Regions from separate parts of the Homo sapiens genome. Here region 2 is linked to region 1. Evidence: promoter capture Hi-C in human tissues and cell types (Jung and others, 2019). All regions are on one chromosome and are shown on one strand. The core of a region is centred on a gene start or on the middle of the fragment in contact, and the rest is flanking DNA. Distances in the headings are between cores, read along the strand shown. Region 1 holds the start of R3HDML (R3H domain containing like). Region 2 overlaps OSER1 (oxidative stress responsive serine rich 1).

Region 1 (7,293 bases), core at 3,334-5,833:
GGTGTAAGCCACCGTGCCCGGCCCCCTTATCCTATTTTCTTAGTCTTCCAATCCCTCCTCACTTTCCACCACAATCTGTGCACTTGTTTGTTCTCAAACCAAACAAGACTTGCCTCAATTCAATGTATACACAACTTTGTTAGGGTTTTGCCTGCCCCTTCTAACTAGAATGCAGGCTCCCTGCAGGTGGAGAGCTTGTCTGCCTTGCTCGCCACTGTATCCCAGTGTCAAGTGCAGCACCTGGTACAGAGTAAGTGTTCAATGAGTATTTGTTGAATGACTGAGTGAAGGAAGGGCAGAGGGTCACTCACTGGCCAGAATGGATGGAGAGGTTCTGGCCCACGTATCTCATCAGCTGTGAAGGCCCATGTGCCCAGATGCACTGGGTGGCCCAGGCTTCGGCAGCCCTGGCCAGCCGCTTGTCCCAGACCTGGGGAAAGAAAGGCAATGAAATTCCCCAGGGGAATTGCCACCATCGTCACAACTGTGTCCAGAGATGCACATTTACCTGGTGCCGTTTCTACCCCATCTCCCTGGAACCCTGCAACAAACCCACGTGACAAAGTAGAAGACTGAGGCTCAGCTCGCTGATGACTTGAAGGGCAACCATGAGTCCATACCAGAGCTGGGGTCCACACCCAGATCTCTTGACTCTGAGCTTGGGCTCTGCTCTGAGCAGGTCCCAGGGTGTTCGTACAGGAGTTCTCAGCAGTCCCTAGAAGTGACTGAACCCAGAAGGATGAGAAAATAACTAATTCTTAAATTGTACTTATAGTATTTTCTTTTTCTTTCTTTCTTTTTTTCTTTTCTTTTCTTTTTTGAGACAGGATCTCACTCTGTCACCCAAGCTGGAGTGCAGTGGTGCGATCGCAGCTCACTGCAACCTCTGCCTCCTGGTACAGTGGGAGGTGGTGAGGTGAGAGGCGATCCTCCCACCTCAGCCTCCTGAGTAGCTGGGACTGCAGGCGCATGCCACCACACCTGGCTAATTTTTGTAGAGACAGGGTTTTGCCATGTTGCCCAGGCTAGTCTCCAACTCCTGGCCTCAAACAATTCACCTGCCTCAGCATCCCAAAGTGCTGGGATTACAGGGCACTTCGGGAGGCTGAAGCAGGTGGATCGCACCCGGCCTTGTAGTATTTTCTAAATGTGTTTATTTTAACATTGAAAATGGTTAAGTCAAAAGCTTTTTTAAATCGTGAAAATATGCATAATTTTAATATGTAAGATATCCGCTTGGGCACAGTGGTTCACGCCTGTAATCTCAGCACTTTTGGGAGGCTGAGGCAGGCAGATCACTTGAGGTCAGGAGTTCGAGACCATCCTGGCCAACATGGAGAAACCCCCTCTCTACTAAAAATACAAAAATTAGGCCAGGCATGGTGGCTCACATCTGTAATCCCAGCACTTTGGGAGGCCGAGGTGGGCGGATCACCTGAGGTCAGGAGGTCGAGACTAACCTGGCCAACATGGTGAAACCCTGTCTCTACTAAAAATATAAAAATTAGCCGGGTGTGGTGGCGGGCACCTATAATCCCAGCTATTCGGGAGGCTGAGGCAGGAGAATCGCTTGAACCTGGGAGACCGAGGTTGCAGTGAGCTGAGTCCATATCATTGTACTCCATCCTGGGCAACAACAGTGAAACTCTGTCTTCAAAAATAATAATGATAATACAAAAATTAGTCAGGCATGGTGGTGTGTACCTGTGGTCCCAGCTACTTGGGAGGCTGAGGCACGAGAATTGCTTGAACTCAGGAGGCAGAGGTTGTAGTGAGCCGAGATCGTGCCACTGCACTCCAGCTTGGGCAACAGAGGGAGATTCCGTGTCAACAACAACAAAAATAGATAACCAAGGAGGAACAGTAGAAAGTCTCATCTCTCTCCTATACTTCTCCCCCAACCCCACCACCCTGCACACCGTCCCAAGAGGCAGTCACCACTGCTTCTTGTGTCCTCTGTATACAGGTATATATTCTATACCTGTACAAGCAGCTCTCTATATATACACACACACACAGACACACACACACACACACACACACACATATATATAGGCAAATGGCAGCATATTCTATTCTGCACCTTGCTCTTTTGTCTTAGTGATTATTCCCCATCACTACATGGTGAATGCCCTCCTCATCCTCCTTAACAGTTTTGTAATTTTCCAATGTATGAATTCTCCAAGTTTTATAACCAGAAAATATGTCATTAAAATACTAGTTCCCTTCCATCTCTGACTTCCTGGGATTCTCTGAAATAGGATTTGTTCATTCATCAAATATCAAACAACATCTCTAGGCACTGAGGACTCAGGGTAGCAAGGCAACAAGGCCTTCAACAAGTCATTGATTATTACAGTCCTGGTCGGTGTGAGAGTGAGAAATGGGAGCCAAACTTTCTTGCGGCAGTGAGAGAAGGGCTGCTAGGGCAAAGGCTGTCGAGTTGGACAGCCTGTTCTGTGAGTAGAAGTCAGCTAGGGAGGGAGAAATGGGGCATCCAAAGAGGGGTCCAGGTATCTACCAGGGTTGTCTGGCCCAATATTTTTTTTTTTTTTTTTTTTTTAGATAGAGTTTCACTCTTGTCATCCAGGCTGGCTGGATCTCGGCTCACTGCAACCTCGGCCTCCCAGGTTCAAGCGATTCTCCTGCCTCCACCTCTCAAGTAGCTTGGGATTACAGGCGCTCATCACCACACCCAGCTAATTTTTGTATTTTTAGTACAGACTGGGTTTCACCATGTTGGCCAGGCTGGTCTGGAACTCCTGACCTCAGGTGATTCACCCACCTCGGCCTCCCAAAGTGCTGGGATTACTGGCGTGAGCCACTGCGCCCGGCTCTCTGGCTCAGTCTTTTAGGGAGAGCAGAGGAGTGCTTCCCTCATGCTACAAAGGGGTAAAGTGAGGGAAGGAGCAGGCTAAACATCAAACCTACATGTTCAGGCCCTCCCTGGAGTCCCTGGTGAGATATTGAACCCTCTCTGCTCCATGCCGCCTGCAATCATTAAACACCTGTTGGGGCAGGTGCCACACACGCACAACGGGTGCTCAATAAATGTGCCATTTGTTTGAAAAATGGAGGGCATTCTAGGTGCTAACGAATGAATGAACAAGTCAATGACTCCCCTGCACTCTAGCTGCCTGCCATCCCGGCTCTTATTCCCGCCCCTCCCAACACTGTATTGCCTCCTCACGTTATCTTATGTACATTAATATCTTGTTGTTCATGCTTGTTTTCTCTTATTCCCACTAAAATGTCACCTTCGTGAAGGAAGGGGCCTTGTCTATTCTGTTACCAGCAGTATCCACAAGGCTTAGCACGGTGCCTGGCTGCAAGTGTACTCCAAGTATAAGTCAATGGATACGATGAAAAAGTTAAGTTTTCAGGCTATCGAGTGGCATGTGTTGGTCTTTCAGGGGGCAGACTGGCAAACTCTTTCCCTAAAGACATCTCTGGGTGGGCTGGAAACCCATCCCTCTAGGCTGGTTTTGGACAGTGGCCCTGGGGGAGGAGCTGTAAGCAAAAGGTTGGTGCCCTCCTTTGACTTCTTGGGGGCTGGAGTGAGAGCCACCAGCCCTGCCTCTTTGAGGGGAGACATCCCAGCTTCCTCTGCTGGTCAGCTGTTGGTTTTCCTCAGCCTGAGATTCCCCAGTACCTGTCCCCACTGCTCCAAGCCTGCCTCCAGGGGCTTGTGGAGGATGCTGTGGGTGTGTCAGTCAAGACCTTAGGGTAAAGAGACAATAGCATAGAAAGCACCAGCCACGCACCCCATGCAGGTCCCCAGTGTGGGGAGCCAAAATTCTTGGGTAGGGGATTGTGATGGTTACAGTTGTGATGGTGCCAGGTGGCAGCAGGCAGACCTGGATTGAAATCCTGGCTGGGCAAATTAATTCTCTGAGTCTCAGTTTCTTCCTCTGGAAAATGGAGATGATACTCACGTGCAGTGCCTGGCGCACAGTGGTGCTCCTTACATAGTAGTCACATGCCTGACTCACTGGAACAGCTGTGCAACCTTCTTGGTTTCCTCATCTGTAAAATGGGCAGATTAACTCCTGCCCTTTCCACAGGTCGACACCCAGATACTGGCTAGTGGGGCCAGGCAGGCAAGTGGTCCAGCTCTTCAAAGCCAGTCATTCTAGGCCAAGATGAGTCCGGCTGCGTTTGCCGGAAGGGACACTGCGGGGGGTGGGGGGCAGGTACGGGGACTCACCATGTATTCCATGTTGGCGGCAGGTGGGTACACACTGGCCCGGATGTGGTTGTGATAATCCAGTAAGGCATTCATGTCTCTCACAGAGATGTGGCGCTTCCGGCGGTACCTGGGCACCTCCAGGCCACTCAGGAGCCGCATAGCCGTGCTCTCGGGCTGGGCCGGGGCTGGGGTAGCATTAGGCATTATCAAGGCGTTCACTGCCTGGCCAGCCCAGAAGAGCAGGCCTGCCAGGCCCACGGTGCTGGGCAGCAGGGGCATAGCTGGATGGAGGAGTCACAGGTCTGCCTTGTGCAATCAGAGCCGGCTGCCTGGAAGGGGCAGGCACGAGAGCACCAGACCCTGAGCGTTCTCCAACAGTGCCGACCCAGAGGATGCTGCCTCCTGGGAACTTGGCAAAGACCTCCAGATGCAGCTCTGGTCCAGATGCCCAGCACCCCTTCCTTTCCACCCCAGGGGACTGAGTGGGTTGGGCAAGGGGAAGAAATGCCCAGACAGTGGCTAATCCAGACATGGCCCTGGGGTGAGATGGTGCCACCACTTCAAAGCCAGTGCTCTGTCCCTCCAGCCCAGGAGACAGACAGCAGCCCTCTCCAGTCTAGACATCCTCTTCACCAATCCTGCTGGAGCGGGCTCAGTCAATGCCCTCGGAGGGCAGGGCCCACCTTACCCCAAGTCATATTGCAAGGTCCTTTTGTCCCTGCTTTGCTGCAATTTAGGAATTGAGAATGAGACACAGAGAAAACCCAATGGCAGAGAATGAAAGAGGCAGAGAAAAAAGAGAGACCAAAAAGGGGACAGAAAAAAAGAGTTACAGAGAAAAAAGAATGAGAAATAGAAAGGTAAAGAGATAAGAGAGAATGAGAGAGAGGCAACAATGTGGCTGGGGGAGGACAGAAATAGACAGAGAGAGGGGCACAAACAGAAGAAAGAGCGAAAAATCGACTTAGAGAAGAGACAGAGAAGCACGAGAGACCAGGCAGGAGGCTCCAACGGTGCGTACCCAGGACGGGCAGCCCAAGCGGTGGCAGGCGGCAGCCCAGGAGGCCGGGGACCTCTGCAGACACCCTGGCCCACCTGGCGGCGCAGCAACTTTAACGGTCCCCTGGTGCTGTTGGCATCTGACGTCCCTGGCCCCACAGCCCCCTCCCCTTCCAGCCAGGCCAGACTCCTGCAGGGAGGCTCCGCCTGCTGCTTGATGGGCTTTTCTCTCCCGCCCCTCTCTCTCTGCTTTCACCTGAAGCATGTAGGGCTGGGCTGGGCAAATGGTCAGGGTAGTGATGTGGCAACAGGGCAGGGATTCCAGGAAAAAATACTCATCCCCTATGGGAGATCCCAGACCCCGAGGCTTCTCTCTGCCTTCCACATCCTGACATATTAAGGCCACCTTGCATCTGGAGAGTATTTTCTGACTGTTTTCCCTATAACACCCTCCAGCCTTGGAGCAGACAGTTAATATGGCCCATCTAGTGAGCCCCTGCTATGTGCCAGGCCCAGGGCTGAGTGCTTTACACAAAAGCCCAGCCAACCTTCAGAAGCAGGTACTATAGCTCCCCATTTCATAGATGAGGAAACTGAGCCCCAGAGAGGAGAAAGAACAAGCCCAAAGTCAAGCCAGCCAGTCTGCAATCACGCCAGGATTTAAGTCCAGATCTGACCCCAGGCCTGGTTAGTATCTAAAAGGATGCCTTTTCCTTTTCCTTTCCTTTTTTTTTTCTTTCTGTTTTTTGTCTCACTTTGTCGCCCAGGCTGGAGTGCAGTGGCGCAATCTCGGCTCACTGCAACCTCGATTCTCCTGCCTCAGCCTCCTAAGTAGCTGGGGCTACAGGTGCACACCACCACACCTGGCTAATTTTTGTATTTTTTAGTAGGGATGGGGTTTCACCATATTGGACAGGCTGTCTTTCTTTTTTTTTCTTTTGAGACAGAGTCTCGCTCTGTCGTCCAGGCTGGAGTGCAGTGGCACAATCTCGGCTCACTGCAACCTCCACCTCCCAGGCTCAGGTGATCCTCCCATCTCAGCCTCCTGAATAGCTGGGGCCACGGGCACGCACCACCATACTTGGCTAATTTTTTTGTATCAGCCAAAGATGCCATTTTCTAACCAAACCAAATATAGATGCATAAGGAAAAAAGCCTAGGGTGATGTTCGTTATGATGCCACTCAAACACAGCCTATTCATTAGCAAATGAATTAAGCCCACAAATCTGGGTTCAAATTTCCCTTATCCCACCCCCTCACTAACTAGGTGTTGGGCACGTTACTCAACCATTGTGTGCCTCATCTGTAAAATGGGAGAAATAGCGGTGCCTACCTTGTAGCATTACTGCGAAGATGAAATGAGTGAACATTTGTGGAGCCTTAGTACAGTGGCTGGCACACTGTGTGCACTCTAGGAATGTGTGTGTGAATGTGTTTGTGTGTACGTGTGTACTTGTGAGAGTATGTATGCACTTGTGTATGTGTGTGCAAGTATACTTACATGTGTGTGTGTTTGAGTGTTCTTGAGTCAAATGTGTCCCCAGGTGAATGTATGAGTATGTAGATAATGGACGTGTGTGCGTGTGTGTGTGTGTGTGTGTGTGTGTTTAAAGTCTCAGTCTCTGAGTTGCTGAAGTCCTAGGTTAAGAAAGAGTTCAATTTTCTCCTCTTTCATTACTTGTATTCCCCAAAAATAAAATGCATTACTTTTGTAATAGAAGGGGATAGACTTACAACAGAAAGGTGTTATATAAAAAACACAGGTGAAGAATTTGCAATCCTCAGACTACTCTTCTAGCAAGCTCTGAGGATTCCCAGGCTGAACCTAGTCTCGGGGCAGCAGGCCAAACCCTGGGCCAGCTGGCGAAGCAGGGCTGGGGGCTGGGACTGGGCTACTCCAGACGGGTCCTCTCCAGACATGTGGAATTCCCACCACAGGCAGCCCAGACAGTGCGGCTGCCAAAGCACACACCTTCCTGCTGGAGCAGTGACCTTCCTGCTGGATGCTGGGGAAGGTGGGGAGGGCAGAGCAGTGAGGGGTGAGGGCTGCGACCCCTGACCCCTATGGGGGCTCTCCCACTATGCCAGAAGGACAAGAGAGACT
Region 2 (7,293 bases), core at 3,521-6,020, 140 kb after region 1:
TGCCATCAGTCAGAGCACGTTTTTGTTCATGTCTTCCACCCACACATTTAATGCCTTTTCCATCTTAACTAAGGACTTACATGCACTGTGGCTGTAACTTTCACATTTGAAGTGCAACAGCAAGTCTATCACAAATTTGTTTTTCCTTCTTCACAATTTTTCACATAGGAGATTCGTTCTTACCGTAGATCTTAGCAACCTCAGTATACGATTTATTTTTTTCCTTTCCTTATTAAGTCAAGAACTTTCACCTTTTTACTTAAAGAAAGCTGTCTTAGTTCATTTTCTGTTGCTGTAACTGAATACCTGAGACTGGGTAATTTTTAAAGAGACTTATTTCTTACATTTCGGGAGGCTGGGAAGTGTAAGAGCATGGCACCAGCATCTAGTGAGTGTATCATTGCTGCATCATAACATGGGGAAGGATATCACGTGGCAAGGGGGCTCGTGAGAAGTAGCCAAACCGGCTTTTATAACAGAGCCGTTCTTGTGATAACTATCCCTGTCCCTCAATAACCCTTTAATTCATTAATCTGTGGATGGATTAATCCATTCTTGAAGGCAGAGTCCTTTTGTGACCCAATCACCCCCAAAGGTCTCAGCACTGATGCATTCGGGACCAAGTTGACAACACATGAACTTTTGGGTGACACATTCTAACCACAGCAGAAGCACTTCGTGGCTTTTCTTGGTATACCCAAACTGCTAGCATCACTACTGTTATACTGTGGGGCCATTGTTAAGTAAAATAAGAGTTACTTGAACACAAGCACTGCAGTACCATGGTAGTTGATCTAATAACCAAGATGGCTACTAAATGACTAATGGGTAGGTAGCATATACAGTGTGGATACCCTGGACGAAGGGATGATTCACATCCCAGGTGGGACGGAGCAGGATGGTGCAAGATTTTGTCATGCCACTCACAGTGGGGCGCAATGTAAAACTTATGAATTGTTTATTTCTGGAATTTTTTATTTAATATTTTCAGACCATGGTTGACTGCAGGTAACTGAAACTGTAGAAAGCGAAACCATGGATAAGATGGGATTACTGTGTTCTGTTTAGCTTTTTAGTGTCTTGTTTGGTTCTTGTCTCTAATTCACTTAGCAGTTTTGAGTATCTTTTCTTTTCATTCAGTTCTTTATTTAATTTTATTTTATTTTATTTATTTATTTATTTATTTTTGAGACGGAGTCTCGCTCTGTTGCCCAGGCTGGAGTACAGTGGCGTGATCTCAGCTCACTGCAAGCTCTGCCTCCCAGATTCACGCCATTCTCCTGCCTCAGCCTCCCAAGTATCTGGGACTACAGGCGCCCACCACCACGCCCGGCTAATTTTTTGTATTTTTAGTAGAGACGGGGTTTCACCGCTTTAGCCAGGATGGTCTCAATCTCCTGACCTCGTGATCCACCTGCCTCGGCCTCCCAAAGTGCTGGGATTACAGGCGTGAGCCACCGCGCCTGGCTATTTAAATATTTTATAAATAGTTATCTTACATAGTGTGTCCAGTAATTCCCAGTATCTGAAAACCTCAGGGGTTGTAAATATTGTTAGTTTTTTGGTTTTGATTGATTGGCTGTTACCAATGATAGAAATGAATCAGAAATCTATTTAATAGTAATGGCATAATGGTCATTTGTAACGTTAGCCTCACAGTGGTTCTGAAGCTGCTATATTCAGGTTTAGGGCACAATATTTAGGCTTCACAGGATCGGTTTCAGTTGTATGTTTGAGGTGCTTCCCTCAGACCCACTGGTCAAAGGCTCCCAAGCTTAGAGTTGGAACAGGGCAGGTGTTCTGTCCCAAATGTTTGGCCCAGGTGATTCAGTTAAAAAATACCATTATCTCACCTCGTTCTATAGCTTGCTAATAAGATGATGTTGAAGTTGTTGAGACACAAAGACTTAGGCAGCATGAAAATGGAGGAAGGTGCATCTCTTGCAGGAAATTTATGAGCTTAGACTCATAAAGCTGAGGGAAGGTAAATTTCCTACTGTCATAAAGAATCTGTTTAGGACAGCTCCATATCCCAACATCTTCTTGTATATTTTTTTTCCTCTTTAGGTCTACAAGGAAGTCTTCACGAGGAGCAGTGAGAACTCAGCGTCGTCGACGTTCTAAGTCTCCTGTCCTTCATCCTCCAAAGTTTATACATTGCAGTACAATAGCGTCTTCTTCCAGCAGTCAACTCAAGCACAAAAGCCAGACTGACTCACCTGATGGCAGCAGTGGGCTGGGAATTTCATCCCCTAAAGAGTTCAGTGCAGGAGAAAGCTCTACTTCTCTCGATGCTAATCACACAGGGGCAGTCGTTGAGCCTTTGAGAACTTCTGTTCCAAGGCTCCCATCAGAGAGTAAGAAGGAAGACTCCTCTGACGCTACCCAAGTCCCCCAAGCAAGTCTCAAAGCCAGTGATCTCTCTGACTTTCAATCAGTTTCCAAGCTAAACCAGGGCAAGCCATGCACATGCATAGGCAAGGAATGCCAGTGTAAGAGATGGCATGATATGGAAGTGTATTCCTTTTCAGGCCTGCAGAGTGTCCCTCCCTTGGCTCCAGAACGAAGATCCACACTTGAGGACTACTCTCAGTCGCTGCACGCCAGAACTCTGTCTGGCTCTCCCCGATCCTGTTCTGAGCAAGCTCGAGTCTTCGTGGATGATGTGACCATTGAGGACCTGTCAGGCTACATGGAGTATTACTTGTATATTCCCAAGAAAATGTCCCACATGGCAGAAATGATGTACACCTGATAGCAAGAAGCTAATTCATATGCTTTAAACCAATGAAGGCTTGTCAAAGAGATTTAGTTAATGGCAGACCTTGTGGCCACTTTGTGTGAGAAGACATCTCTTTCTGCTCACTGTGCTTGCAATAAAAACTTTTCTTGGCATCTCAGTTAATCTTCATTCTTTCAACTTACTCTCTTGAGTTCTTACATACACTTCAAGGCGAGCAGATCAAAGAAAAATCCCCCTTATTTAGAAATGTTCCTGGGGGATGAAGAAACCATAATTACTTGAGACTGGCAGCAGTGGGTATATGGTAAAAGCCTTTGTAAAACAGTGCATTTTTCAGATTTGTTTAAGGTTTGCTAGCCAAGGAAAGTAAAATGTGATTTTGTAACTGCACTAAACATTTGTCATGCTGTAGTTGCCAGCCCAGAATATTAGAAGTTACAAGACTGATTTAAACCGTCTCTGATTTAATGCAAGATATATTGTGTCTATAAAGGTTTCTCTTGTTATTGTTAAGCCAGAGATCTAAGGTTTAGATTCAATTTGAATAAACTAGCTGGCCTGCCCTCTATTGTTTGAGAGAGTTATTAACCATCACTAAATAAGCCCCTGCTGGTGCTATTCATCCTAAGACATGTTACATGCAGTTTCAAGTAAGCAGCTTGGAATGGGCTGCTTCAGTTGGAGGGAGGGGGTGTAATATTTGAAACGAGTGTGTGTCTTCACCATCTCCAGCATTTTAAATATATGGCGGTTTTTTTTTTTTTTTTTTGTTATCAGTTGTAATACAGGTCTCATACCTCAGTTTCAGATGTTATAGATGGTTACCTCTTTGAGCTGCCCTGTCACCCCAGCAACCCTAAAAGAGAATTTTGTACATTCTGTATCCCACAGATTTGGTCAGCCATTTCAAAATTCCCTCCAGTTTGGTAAAAAAAAAATCTGTCTTCGGTTTCAGCTGGATGATGAATCCTTGTTTTTCAGGTGGCTCCAAAAAGAATGTTGCATGTGTTCAGACCATCCTGAGCAGAGCCACCAAATTTAGTGACAGTGTCTAGCCATGTTAGCAATAATGTTAACAGAAGCTTTTGTTTAAATTACAAAATACATTTATACTATTTACTAAAACTGCGCTGGCTGTGGTTGATTCATGATAATGGGATGTGGGCTTCAACAAATAGGTGATTTGTACTTGGGGGAGAGGGGAAGGGTGTTTACTAGAAAAACCCTAAGCTTAAGTAGTAGTGGGAGTCCTCTGCTGGTCATTGGTTTGGTGTGGATTTAGTGACATCTGAAGGCTGTGGTTAAAGCAAGGGAGCAAAATACCTTATCACAGTTCTAGAAGCTGTGACAGATATTTCCTGATAATGGTGACAGAAGGTACACTATTTAGTATATCTAAGGCAGAAATTCTCAAACTTTTTGTAAGCACTTCCTTTACACTGACAAATTCAGGACCCAAAAGGTTTTGTTATAATCTCCAAAAGGATATAAATATTTACCATGTTAGAAATTAAAACTAAGATTTTTTTAAATATTTAAAAACTCATTACAAGCTAACAAAATTTTTGAATGAAAAATAGCTTTTCCAAAACAAAAAATAGAAGAGTGGCATTGTTCTACCTTTTTGCAAATCTTTTTTAATGTTTGGCTTAATTAGAAGACAGATTCTCATATGTTTCTGCATTCAGTCTCTGGGATATCGCATATTGTGTGGTCTCTGGCAAACTTTTGTACACTTGGGAGAATGAATGTGAAAAAGGCAACTACAGGTTGAATATTCCTTATATGAAATGCTTGGGACCAGAAGTGTTTCGGATCTCAGATTTTTTTTAGATTTTGAAAGATTTGCATTACATGCTTATCAGTTCAGCTTCCATAATCCTAAAAGCCAAACTGCTCCAATGAGCATGTCCTTTGCTCCTCATGTCAGTGCTCAAAAAGTTCTGGATTTTGAAGCATTTCAGATTAGGGACCCTCAACCTGTAATGTTTTAGTACCATGTAAATAATTTTGACCTCAGATTTCCTAAAAGGGCCTCAGGGATTCCAGGACCAAAATTTAAGCTTCTGGTTGTAAAGGTACCACCCCGCTTTCACCTCCACAACTAATGTTTTGGCTCACCTTTAAAAAAATTAAAACTGGGCCGGGCACGGTGGCTCACGCCTTTAATCCCAGCACTTTGGGAGGCCGAGGCGGGCGGAACACAAGGTCAGGAGATCGAGACCATCCTGGCTAACGCGGTGAAACCCCGTCTCTACTAAAAATACAAAAAATTAGCCGGGCGTGGTGGCTGGCGCCTGTAGTCCCAGCTGCTCAGAGGCTGAGGCAGGAGAATGGTGTGAACCCAGGAGGCGGAGCTTGCAGTGAGCCAAGATTGCGCCACTGCACTCCAGCCTGGGCAACAGAGCGAGACTCCGTCTCAAAAATAAAATAAAAGCTGTAGAGGAGTGGAGCTATTGTAATTAAGTAGTGAGCTATTCAAGTTCATGTTAAGTGGGCTTAACATGGGCTTAACATGTTCTTTGAATTAAGGCGAGTTCTTAAGCCTTTAAATCCCTTTTAGTTTGTTTTTCAAGCCAGCGCTCTGGTTATTTACTTAGTGCTGTATATTAGTGCAGCAGTCACCAGAGAATGATGATACGTATTCTTTTCATATGAAGGTGTTAGGAGGGTGTAAGTATTGAAAAGCACAAAGTTCCAATGACCTAGTAACTCAAAATCCAACTTGCATGAAAGTTTAGGCATTCCAGATTTGTGGGAATAAGTTGTAAGTTATCTACATCTCAGCAAAATCTTCCTCAAAACATGAATCTTGAAGTTAAAAATTACTCTGCTCAGACCTAATTGGCCCAACTTTAACATTAGGGTCCCTCATTGGGATATTTGACGTTCTTTTGTGAATGTGATGTACCAAACTAATCTCCTTTCTCTGATACATCTAGGAAAATGGATTTGGTTTGTGGATTGAGGGATTAAGTCTCACTCTGATGTTCCAAAAAAGTAACATCCTGATTTCCACATGCCTTTATTTAACAAGTTTTCATTGAACGTTCATTCATTCATTCATTCATTCATTCATTCAATAAATATCAAGTGCTTACAACACACCAGGGACACTGTACTAGATTCTGGGAATGGAACAGTAAGCAGAACAATATCCTTGTCCTCAGTAGAGAGAGGTGATGAACATGTAAGTTGTATGGAGAGAAAAAGAATTAGGAGATAGGAAGGGGTGGGCCAGGGATAGGGTTGCTATTTGGGGTGGGCAGAGAAGATGCTGTGATAAGGTGACATTTGAGCAGAGACCTGAAGGAAGTAAGAGAGTGAGCCATGGGGGCATCTGAGGGAGGGGCATTCTTGGCAGAAGGAACCACAGGGATGTCAATGCAACTTGAGCAGGTGGGGTCAGAGAGAGATGAGTAGGGCCAGATCATGGAGGGCCTGGTAGGCTATTTTAAAGGTGTTGGCTCTTTGGCTCTTACTGTGAGAGATAGGGAGTCATTTGGGGAAGCAGAGGAGAGAGACATGACCAGACTTAACTTTTTTTTTTTTTTGAGACAGAGTCTTGCTCTGTCACCCAGGCTGGAGTGCAGTGGCACGATCTCAGCTCAGTGCAACCTCCACCTCCCGGGTTCAAGCAATTTTTGTGTCTCAGCCTCCCAGGTAGCTGGGATCACAGGTGTGCACCACCATGTCTGGCTAATTTTTTTGTATGTTTAGTAGGGACAGAGTTTTGCCACTTTGGCCAGTCTGGTCTCAAACTCCTGACCTCAGGCAGTCTGCCCACCTTGCCCTCCAAAAGTGCTGGGATTACAGGCATGAGCCACCATGCCCAGCCGAGACTTAACCTTTTGAAAGAGCACTGGCTACTATGTGCAGACTAAGGGAAGGCAAGGAGGACAGTTAGGAAGCTACTTCAGTGAGTCAGGCAATGGGTTTGGTGGCTTGGGCACTTGGCAGTGCAGGAGATAATATGTGTTCTGGAAGGTTTTTTTTGTTTTTGTTTTTGTTTTTGTTTTTTTTTTTAGACAGAGTCTCGCTCTGTTGCTCAGGCTGGAGTGCAGTGGCGCGATCTCAGCTCATTGCAGTCTCCACCTCCCTGTTCAAGCAATTCTCCTGCCTCAGCCTCCTGAGTAACTGGGACTACAGGTGCATGCCACCATGCCTGGCTAATTTTTGTATTTTTAGTAGAGATGGGGTTTCGCCATGTTGGCCAGGCTGGTCTCGAACTCCCGACCTCATGATCCACCTGCCTCTGCCTCCCAGAGTGTTGGGATTACAGGTGTGAGCCACCGTGCCCAGCCTGTTCTGGAATTATTTTAATCTAAATCCCTTCAGGGATTTGCCGATGGACTGGATTTAAGGTGTGAGAGAAAGACAGGAATTAAGGTTGACTCCAAAGGTTTTAATAAGTTTGGAGTCGGCTGGAGGGACAAATTTGCAAGTGGAAATTGAGAGTTTCATTTGTTCTTGTCAAATCTGAGATGCTCGTGAGATATTTAGAAATGTTGAGTAGGTGGCTGGATGTCTGACTGAAGATCAGGAGAGTG

The links. The method cuts DNA at HindIII sites, captures the fragments that hold promoters and counts their contacts. A contact is called where the count stands out against the background at its distance.
Region 2: a contact is called between a fragment that was not itself captured here and the fragment with the promoter of R3HDML in region 1, in 1 of the 25 tissues and cell types used here (dorsolateral prefrontal cortex).

What each region holds. Positions count from the first base shown.
Region 1 is chr20:44,334,333-44,341,625 of GRCh38, reverse strand. It overlaps R3HDML (R3H domain containing like), which reads right to left and starts at 4,583. Exons shown (of 5, transcript NM_178491.4): 1 at 4,208-4,583; 2 at 312-430. The coding sequence starts at 4,468. RefSeq lists enhancers at 4,912-5,901, 7,156-7,293. The HindIII fragment of the contact is 19,264 bases long and covers 1-7,293 here.
Region 2 is chr20:44,192,514-44,199,806 of GRCh38, reverse strand. OSER1 (oxidative stress responsive serine rich 1) reads left to right here. Exons shown (of 4, transcript NM_016470.8): 4 at 2,068-3,868. The coding sequence ends at 2,755. Among named protein-coding and RNA genes, the nearest start is that of JPH2, 9.0 kb to the right of the region's middle. The HindIII fragment of the contact is 3,940 bases long and covers 2,801-6,740 here.